3 separate regions of the Homo sapiens genome follow, and all the other regions are linked to region 3. The links are contacts of gene promoters, found by promoter capture Hi-C in blood cells and fetal thymus (Javierre and others, 2016). All regions are on one chromosome and are shown on one strand. Each heading gives the region's core, a stretch centred on a gene start or on the middle of the fragment in contact. The rest is flanking DNA. Distances are from core to core; before and after follow the strand shown.

Region 1 (3,120 bases), core at 301-2,800, 280 kb before region 3:
CCACCCTCTTTCACCAGTCCACTTCGCTCTGCTCAATAAAACAGATTAGCAGGAGGCCGAATCAGCGCTGTCAGCTCGAGAGGAGTCCTCAGCCTCTTGGGCAGTGTAACAAAACCCAGCCATTCACCAGGTTCACCTTGCTCTGGACTAAATATTCTGCCCAGAAAAAAATAAGGGCAGGCAGAATGTAGCAGTGTATCAAGCACTAAAGATTTCCTACCATTTTCCATTCGTAGCCCTGAAGGAAGGAGAAAGTGTGGACAAGGTAGGTGGAGGCAGCCCAGCCACCACCTCTCTGCTGGTGGACACAGCAAGGATGCCAAAGTGTGGAGGCAGAGTCGGCTGCAGCACTGGGTGCGACCTCAAATTTACCTTCACATTGATTGCCCCCAAAACCCACCCCCACAGGCTTTTATTTTTCTTTTAAAATCTGCTTACTATTGGGTTTTTTTTTTTTTAATCAATTTTTTTAGAGACAGGGTCTTACTCTCACCCAGGCTGGAGTGCAGTGGTGTGATCACAGCTCACTGCAGCCTCCAACTCCTGGGCTAAAGGTGATCTTCCACCTCAGCCTCCTGAGTAGCTGGGACCACAGGCACGTGCCACCACACCCAGATAATTTTTGTATTTTTTGTAGAAATGGGATCTTACTACATTGCCCAGGCTGGCCTCAAACTTCTGGGCTCAGTCCTCCCTTGGCCTCCCAGAATGCTAGGACTACAGGCATGAGCCACCTTATCCGGATGGGTTTATTTTATTTTTTAAATTTTTGTAGAGACAGGGTTTTGCCATGTTGCCCAGGCTGGTCTGGAACTCCTGGGCTCAGGCAATCGCCCACCCTCAGCCTTCCAAAGTGTTGGGATTACAGGCATGAGCCATTGCATCCGGCCTTTATTTTTAAATTCAACTTTTTATTGTGAGGTATTTATAGATTCACATACTGTTGTAAGAAATAATACAGAGAGATCCCCATGCACCCTTTACCTGGTTTGCCCCAGTGGTATCATCATGCAAAACAGGACATCACAGCCCAGATATTGACATTGATACAGTGAAAACACAGCAGAGCTCCATCACCAAAGTATTCTCATGGCTATAGATGTATAGCCAAATCTACTTCCCTCTTTCCAAACCTCACCCAGTCCCTGGCAACCACTAATCTGGTTTCCATTTTTATCATTTTGTAATTTCCAAAATTCTATACAAATGGAATTATCCAGTATGTAACCTTTTGAGATTTGCTTTTTTTAAAACCCAACATAATTTCCTGGAACTTTATTGATTTATTGAAGTAACTGCATCAATAGTTTGTTCCTCTTTGTCACAGAGTAGTATTCCATGGTATGGATGTACCACAGTTTGCTTAACCATTCACCCATTAAAGGACATCTGGGTTATTTCAATTTGGGCTATTATGAATAAAGCTGCTATAAATATTCATGTGCAGATCTCTGTGAGAATATCAGTTTTGTTTCTCTGGGATGCATGCCAAAGGGTACAATTTCTTGGTTGTATGATAGTTGCATGTTTAGTTTTGCAAGAAACTAACAGAGTGGCTGTACCATTTTACATTTCCACTAGTAATGTGTGAGCAATCCAGTTTCTCTACATCCTTGCAAGCATTTGATGTTGTCACTGCTTTTTAGTTAGGTCTTACTGATAGGGATATAGTGATATTTCACTACTGGCTAATGATGTTGAATATCTTCTTGTGTGTTTATTTGCCATGAGATGAATGAAATGGTGAAATATCATTTCATTAATTTTTACCAATTTTTCTAATTGAATCCCGTGGTTTTCTTATAGTGAGTTTTGAAAATTCTTTATATATTCTAAATACTAGTCCTTTATTGGAAGTGTAGTTTACAAATAATTTCTCCCAGTCTGTAGCTTGCCTTTTCATCCTCTTTCATGTCATGTTTCAGAGAGCAAAGGTTTTTTATTTTAATGAGTTCCAATTTCCTGTTACGGGTTGTGTTCATGTCAAGTCTAAGAATTCTTGCCTAGTCCTAGATCCTGAAGATTTCACCTATGCTTTTTGCTTTTTTACAGCACCATATGTTGAAAAGGCTATCTTCCCTCCATTGGCTTGTTTTTGCATCTTTGTCCAAAATCAAGCCAGGCACTGTAGTGCTTGCCCGTGGTCCTAGCTAATCGGAAGGCTGGGGCAGGTAGATCACTTGAGCCCAGGAGTTTGAGTCCAGCCTGAGCAACATAGTGGGACCCCCATCTCTTCAAAAAAAAAAAAATTAGTAGAGCATGCTTGTGTGGGTCTATTTCTGGATTCTCTCTTCTATTCCATTGACCTATGTGCCTATCCCTTGTAACTCTCCTTTTAAGTTTATACTTTTCCTGGGCTTCTGACATTTAAAATCGGAAGAGAAATCTGCGTTTTGATTATGTTCCTGGAAACAATAACTTTCTTTCAAGATCTGAGGAAGAGGAAGACTCTCTGGAACAGTGGAAAGAACTTGTCCTTGTCCTGGGAATCAAAAGATGTGAATCTTGATTTCTACTAAAGATGACCCTAGGTGAATCATATCATTTCCCTAGGCCTGAATTTCTTCATATATAAAATGAAGGGATTTGAACTAAATAATCTTAGTTCTTTTCATATGACTCAAGTGAATTTCCAATTACAAATACTTATTGATAAACACAAATGTCCTCCCCTCACTTAATGTCTATTTCCAAATAGGAGCAATCTCATAGAATCACAGGACATTTGGCTTTTGTCAGATGTGAAGGCCCAGAGAAGACACATGGCCTGAGGTCACACATCCTGTTTAATAACAGAACCAAGGCTAGAAAACATGTTCCATGACTCCGACTTTGCTGCTCTTTCCCATTCTCTCTGCCTCCTGGAGAAGAAGGGAACGTGTTGCTCCCTTCTCCTACCAGAGAAGAGGAATAGAAGGAATAGGTCAGAGACATGCATCCAATATGGCTTCTCTGAGCACCCACTCAATACCACACCTCATGGAGGATCTCTCCCAGGATTTAAGAGAAGAACAAGACAGAGTTTCTCTCCTCCAAGAGTCTATAGCCAGGCCAAGACATAGAACCACAGAAATTAATGGGAGAACAATTTAAGACCATTGGCTGAGGAATACAGATAAT
Region 2 (3,193 bases), core at 358-2,857, 320 kb before region 3:
CTGGAGTGCAGTGGCACGATCTCAGCTCACTGCAACCTCCGCCTCCAAGTTCAAGCTCTTCTGCCTCAGCCTCCCGAGTAGCTGGGACTACAGGCACAAGCCATCATGACCAGCTAATTTTTGTATTCTTAGTAGAGACGGGGTTTCACCATGTTGGCCAGGATGGTCTTGATCTCTTGACCTCGTGATCCACCCACCTCGGCTTCCCAAAGTGCTGGAATTACAGGCATGAGCCACCGTGCCTAGCTAACACGCCTGTTTTTAAAGGCCGTGTAGTATTCCATTATATTTCCATTGTTTAATTGATTTAACCATGCCCCTAGTTCTGAGCCAATAATGCTTCAATAGAACTTTCTAGAAAATATATCTTTGCACAATGCAGGAATGTTTCGTAAGTGAAAATGTTGAGTTGGAAAGTATGAACAATTTTAATTGTAATATATTTGTTAAATTGCTCCCTGCCCCCATCCTCTCCACAGTGTACATTCTGAAAACAGAAAAAGCCTCTCACATTTCAAAGGGGAGCAAGTAATGAGTTTGCTGTAATTGAATACATACAGCAATAAGAGCCATGGGGATGGGGGGTTTGATCAGCAATGTTTTCATAAGTCCCTTGCAGGGAGCCCCCTGGACCAGCATTGCATGGACATTGCTTTGGGTCTTCTGGGCTTTTTTTTCCCCCATCAAAACCAGAGAAAATGTCCAGGCACATGGCCCATACCTGTAATCCCAGCACTTTGGGAGGCCAAGGCAGGTGGATCAAATGAGGTCAGGAGTTCGAGACCAGCCTGGCCAACATGGCGAAACCCCATCTCCACTAAAAATACAAAAATTAGGCAGGCATGGTGGTGGGCTCCTGCAATCTCAGCTACTTGGGAGGCTGAGGCAGGAGAATTGCTTGAACCCAGGAGGCAGAGGTTGCAGTGAGCCGAGATTGCACCACTGCACTCCAGCCTGGGTAACAGAGCGAGACTCCATCTAACAAACAAACAACAACAACAACAACAAAGATTTGGAGGGAAAGGACTTTCAGCTGCTCTGAAGATGCATCAGGCATTGATCGGCTCTGCAGACTAGTTTTTACAATATCTAATGGTACCGAATGTATGAGCCTGTCATTCACCCCAGAGATGAATCTCGACAAAACAAAAGGAAAAAAAATTTTTACTTCTAGAAAGTAACACCTTACACAGCTCACTGGTCCCCAGAGAAGTGGACAGAGGTGACTCTAATACAACTCCAGCTTTCTAACTAGCCAAGCAGCTTCTAAAAAGCCAAACCTGAGACCAAAATGGGTATAAGCTGCAACAGGGAGAGGAAAACTCAAATAGGGGAAGAGAGAACCATCCCCACATGATTTCGCCACCTCCTGGCCTTGCATATTTCTTTAGCCAAGATTGCACGGCCCATGGCTATAATCATTCTTTTGAAAATGTGTTAACTTCAACTCCTCTGTCTCCTCTTCCTCCAAGCACTTGGCTGGCCAACCTGTGCTCCTGGGAGGCTGTCTCCTCTGCCCAGCCCACCTGTGGGGTGGAGGGCTGCAGAGGAAAGTGCCCTGTGAGGTTGCTGCCTGCCACCTCAGTGACCCTGGGCTGCAGTCCACGTGGCACCTCCAGTGGGCTCAGCACCTGTTCCCACAGCAGCAAGTCCATACCTTCACCACTGTCTTCTCATCTGTCCTCTCTCTGAGGAATAGCCCACCTCCTGCTTCACAGAGAAAACAGAAGGCATCACAGAGGACACTGGTCACTGTCACCTGCACTCCAAGGCCAGCCCTCCACACATGCTGGGTGGCACTCACAATCAACACCCTCTTCTCCTGCATTCCCTGGTCTCCCTCTTCACCCAGTCATGGAAGGACACATGACCCAAGCTGGGCCAGAAAGCATCCTCTCTGGGACTTCCTCTATTGTCCCCAGCATTCATTGGTCCCAGCTACTTGGGAGGCTGAGGCAGGAGAATGGCGTGAACCCGAGAGGCAGAGCTTGCAGTGAGCCAAGATCGCGCCACTGCACTCCAGCCTGGGCGACAGAGCGAGACTTCGTCTCAAAATAAATAGAGAGAGAGAGAGAGAGAGAGGGAGGGAGGGAGGGAAAAAGAAAGAAAGAAAGAAAGAAAGAAAAGAAAAGAAAAAGAGAGAGGATAGCTCTCTCTCTTCATAGCCTCTTCTCCCTTCCCATTTGAAATCCCCCTCCCAAGAGGTCATCGCTGTGAAGTCTGGTGGGCATTCATCCCTTTTCCTCGCAGCACGCTCAGACTGCACGGGCAGTCTGCAGTTAACTGTCCATCACCAGTACCCACTCTGCGGGCTCCCAGGTGAGACGCCGGAACTACATTTCCCAGAGTCCCTATCATCCCATGGTTCCGGATTCAAGTTGGCCTGCAAAAGGTTCCTGCTCAATATCTGCAAGAAGGAAGGAGAGATGCCATTCTCCTCTGGAGGCTGCTCCCTCTAGGCATGTGGGAGACATGAGGTTCCAGCGGCCCGCCACAACCTTGTGTGAGGTGGAGCACGGACCCTCCCTTTTTTTAGAGGCCTGTGGACCGTAAGCATGGAAATAAATCTTAAGTTCCTTCAGGGGAAATTCCAGGCGCCTAGCTAGCCCTGAGAAGTAAATAAATAACTTGTTAAACAAGAAGGTGATAGTAGCCTAAAACAACAGCTAAAGAAGTTGGAGTCCCAGAGATGTTTGCTTTCCCTATAGAAATTAAAGATAGTATCTTCACGTATGTCCCTGAGTTGTCTTTCAGAGGCTTGGACCCCCTAACTGAGGACCCCCCAAACTGATCAGGGGCATGGCAGGTAGACCCCAGATAAGGGGGAAATGAAGACTAAACTTTATTGTCCTTTGTTCTAAGTTTTTTCCTGAAGGGCTTGGAGAAAGTCACTCCCCCTAACCAGTTAACTCTACTGGCTTTACATTTTTAAACAAAGTTTCTCTTCCTTAGCCAATTGCAAACCAGAAGATGTTTAAATCTACCTATGACATGTAAGCCCCTAGCTTCAATATATCTCACCCTTTTCGGCCAAAATCAATGTGGAGCCTCCATGTATTGATTTATGATTTGCCTGTAGCTTCTGTTTTCCTGACATTTACCCCTGCCCTTAAAAACCTTACCTGCAAGCCATCAAGGAGTTAGAGACTTAAGCATAAGCTGACGATTTCCCTTGCTTGGCACCCTGCAGTAA
Region 3 (3,162 bases), core at 182-2,681:
GCATGGGGCTTTTGTTTTCTTTCCAGGGTTTCACACGAACTCACTTCTACTAACTCACTTCTACAATTCCCTATGTAGGGTAAACTTTGGAAATGAAACTCACTGACAAACGTTCCAGTACATTTAAGCTGGGGATATCGTATTCTTTGTGATGTTTGTATTTCTCCGACCCCAAATATATTAATAAAAACTTTTTTCTGAGCCCTCTTCGGTGGGGGATAGAGTGAGAAGAGAAATGGGAGAGGGCCTGTTAATTTTCAGGTCATCTTTTAAGTTACAGAACAGTATATACTGACTAGTTATCTTAAAAATACTGAGCCAATGAATTCGTTCAGCTATGTAAGATTAAAGAAAGACAGATTTTTTTTTTTTTACCGTAAAAACCTGTAAAGGAGTGGTCAGTTTTTAGATGAAAGGTCATAGGAAGAAGAGCATTAAAAGTTGAGATATAAAGAAGAGAAAAAACCCAACATCGAGGAATTAGAAAAATAAGGCGTGACAGCATTTCCACATTCATTTCGAAGTGAAAGGAAAGTCGAAGGGACATTAAGGGAAAAGGGCTCCTTGCGTAGTTTCCCCTCACAGCTCTCGTCTTAAGAACGCTTAAGGGTCGGTGCGGTCGTTGACTAACCACTTCATTAGGCTCGTCCCACCTTCAACCTCAAGGCTTTCGCCTTTTTAGACGCAACGCCGCCGGTTCCAACAGAGACGCGGCCGCTCACTGAAATAGAGAGCCAAGGAGACACAGGCCCCAGCTAGTCCCACGCCAGCTTCTCCCCGCCCGGAAAGCAGCCCCGCGCACTTTCGATCCCGAGACCCTCTACGATGCTCGGGGTCGCCAGAAATGCCACCGCAGGAAGCACCTACCACTATCCGGACGGAGGGGAGCTCCCTGCCGCCTCCTCCCGCCCAACCGCGACGGGGACCCACACCTCGGAGCAGACATAAGGAAGCCTCAGGGGTGGGGAGAAGGGAGGAAGCAATGCGGGGGCGGGGAGGGAAGAGGACCCAGAAGTCCAGGTATCAGTCAGCCTCCAAAAAAGGGGGAGGGGTGTTATCCGTGGTGTTTGGGGAAGGAGTGGAACCCAGAAGCCATCTTGGGATGGGAGGAATCAATCGCGATGGCTCCAGAGGTTGCTCCTCGCGGGACTACCCGCAACCCCGCCCGACCGCGCTTGTTCCCGTGAAACCCCGAGCATTGGGCCGCCGCCTAGACGGCTCCCGCGGCTTTGTACTCACTCTGCCCTCGAAGTTGTTTTCCTCCACATCACTCATGTCGACGAGGCGCTCCCCAGAACTAAATAAGAGACAAGTCTCGGCTCGAGGGCCGATGGCCTAATTAACCCGCTGACTGGACCGTGGGGAAGAGGAAAGAGTCGGCAACCACAGCCGCTCCACTCCACTCCCACTCGGTCGCAGGCTCCAGCAAAATGGCGCCGGCGCCGCCAGAAATCTCCTGGCCTCCTCAGAGCACGACGTAAAGGGGGCGGGCGTCTCTGTGACGTCACGAGGCTCCACCTCCCGCGAGGCTTTGTGTCGGCTGGGCCTGGAGCGAGGGTGGAGGTTGGCGGGCGGCCTGCGCTCTCAACCTGGGCGCCTTGGAATCGCGGTCCCGTGCTGTCCTCCAAACTTCAGACTCACCTCGGACGCGTCAACCTCTTTGAAGACTTTTCAGTCGCCAGATGAGCCTTATATGACCTTAGCCCCTTTAAATATTGTCCAAGTGGATTCTGATGTAAGGGAACAAAACATTGGAAGCGTTTTTTTATGTTTGTTTATTTTTTGAGTCAGGGTCTCGCTCTGTCACCCAAGCTGAAGTGCAGTGAAGCGATCACTGCTCACCACAGCCTCAAACTCCCGGGCTCAGACGATCCTCCCACCTCAGGCTCCCGCGCGCGCCACCACGCCCGGCTAATTTTTTTCTTTTTTGGGACGGAGTCTCACTCTGTTGCCCAGGCTGAAGTGCAGTGGCGCTATCTAGGTTCATTGCAACCTCCACCTCGCAGGTTCAAGCAATTCTCCTGCCTCAGCCTCCCCAGTAGCTGGGATTACAGGCATGCACCACCACGCCCGGCTAATTTTTGTATTTTTAGCAGAGACGGGGGTTTCACCATGTTGGACAGGCTGGTCTCAAACTCCTGACCTCAGGTGATTTGCCCGCCTGGGCCTCTCAAAGTGCTGAGATTGCAAGGGTGAACCACCGTACCCGGCCCACCCGGCTAATTTTTGTGTGTTTTGCAGAGATGGGGTTTTGACATGCTGCCCAGGCTGGTCTCGAATTTGTGGACTCAAGCGATCTGCTCGCCTCGGCCTCCCAAAGTGCTGAGATTACAGGCCTGAGCCACCGCGCCCGGCTGGAATCGTGTATATATAACAGGCTTTTGGGGGGCACGTTGTCAGCTGACTGTATTACTTTTCTTCCATATTTGCCCTGTGTAATGTCGACGTAGTACATGCACAGATGAGGTTATGATGCAAAGCCGCTGCTCCTTGCCTCGTGTCCCTGCTCCAGTTCCCCCTCCTAGAGACAGCCGTGTAGTTTTTTTTTTATAATGCTTAGCTCCCTACTAGTTTTTTTGACTTAGATATTTCCATAAAGCTTCACAGTGAAGACCTCCCAAATCTGTCAACTTGGTTCCCAATCATAGTAATAATCTCTGAGATGAGTTTTACTTGTGTAATGCAACTTTAAAAATTAGTTTCATCTTAAATTTTTTTCCTACAGTGCTTTGTAGTAAAAAGATTGACATAGACTTTCAACTATAGTTCTATGGTAGGAAAGTTCATCTGGCATTATTATGAAGATTGCTACCACTGGGGGCAAGATTTCAGCATTTGAATGTCAGTTATTGATAGGGATAAACTTAAATGACATCTGGCTCTTAGAAAAGATGTTGAACTTGGCTGGGTGTGGTGGCTGACGCCTGTAATCCCAGTACTTTGGAGACCCTAGGCGGAAGATCGCTTGAGGCCAGAAGTTCGAAACCAGCCTGGTCAACATGGTGAGCCCCCATCTCTACAAAAGAAATTATTATTATTATTATTGAGACGGAGACTTGCTCTGTCACCCAGGCTGGAGTGCAGTGGCGCGATCTCGGCTCACTGCAACCTCCACCTCCGGGTTCAAGTGATTCTCCTGGCTCAGCTTCCCGAGTAGCTGGG

The links. Contacts are between HindIII fragments. The CHiCAGO score rates a contact against its expected background, and 5 or more counts as called.
Region 1: a fragment that was not itself captured here is called in contact with the fragment with the promoter of TRA2A in region 3 in 2 of 17 cell types (monocytes and neutrophils); the score reaches 6.6 in monocytes.
Region 2: a contact is called between a fragment that was not itself captured here and the fragment with the promoter of TRA2A in region 3, in 1 of 17 cell types (monocytes). The highest score is 5.8, in monocytes.

Annotation. Positions count from the first base shown.
Region 1 is chr7:23,248,332-23,251,451 of GRCh38, forward strand. All of the region lies in intron 1 of GPNMB (glycoprotein nmb), which reads left to right. Among named protein-coding and RNA genes, the nearest start is that of GPNMB, 3.1 kb to the left of the region's middle. RefSeq lists an enhancer at 1-15. The HindIII fragment of the contact is 5,429 bases long and covers 1-3,120 here.
Region 2 is chr7:23,209,342-23,212,534 of GRCh38, forward strand. No RefSeq gene overlaps it. Among named protein-coding and RNA genes, the nearest start is that of NUP42, 29 kb to the left of the region's middle. The HindIII fragment of the contact is 7,777 bases long and covers 1-3,193 here.
Region 3 is chr7:23,530,550-23,533,711 of GRCh38, forward strand. It overlaps TRA2A (transformer 2 alpha homolog), which reads right to left and starts at 1,432. Exons shown (of 8, transcript NM_013293.5): 1 at 1,240-1,432. The coding sequence starts at 1,275. RefSeq lists enhancers at 490-1,060, 1,061-1,630, 1,172-1,221, 1,242-1,291, 1,302-1,521 and 3 more. The HindIII fragment of the contact is 3,554 bases long and covers 1-2,597 here.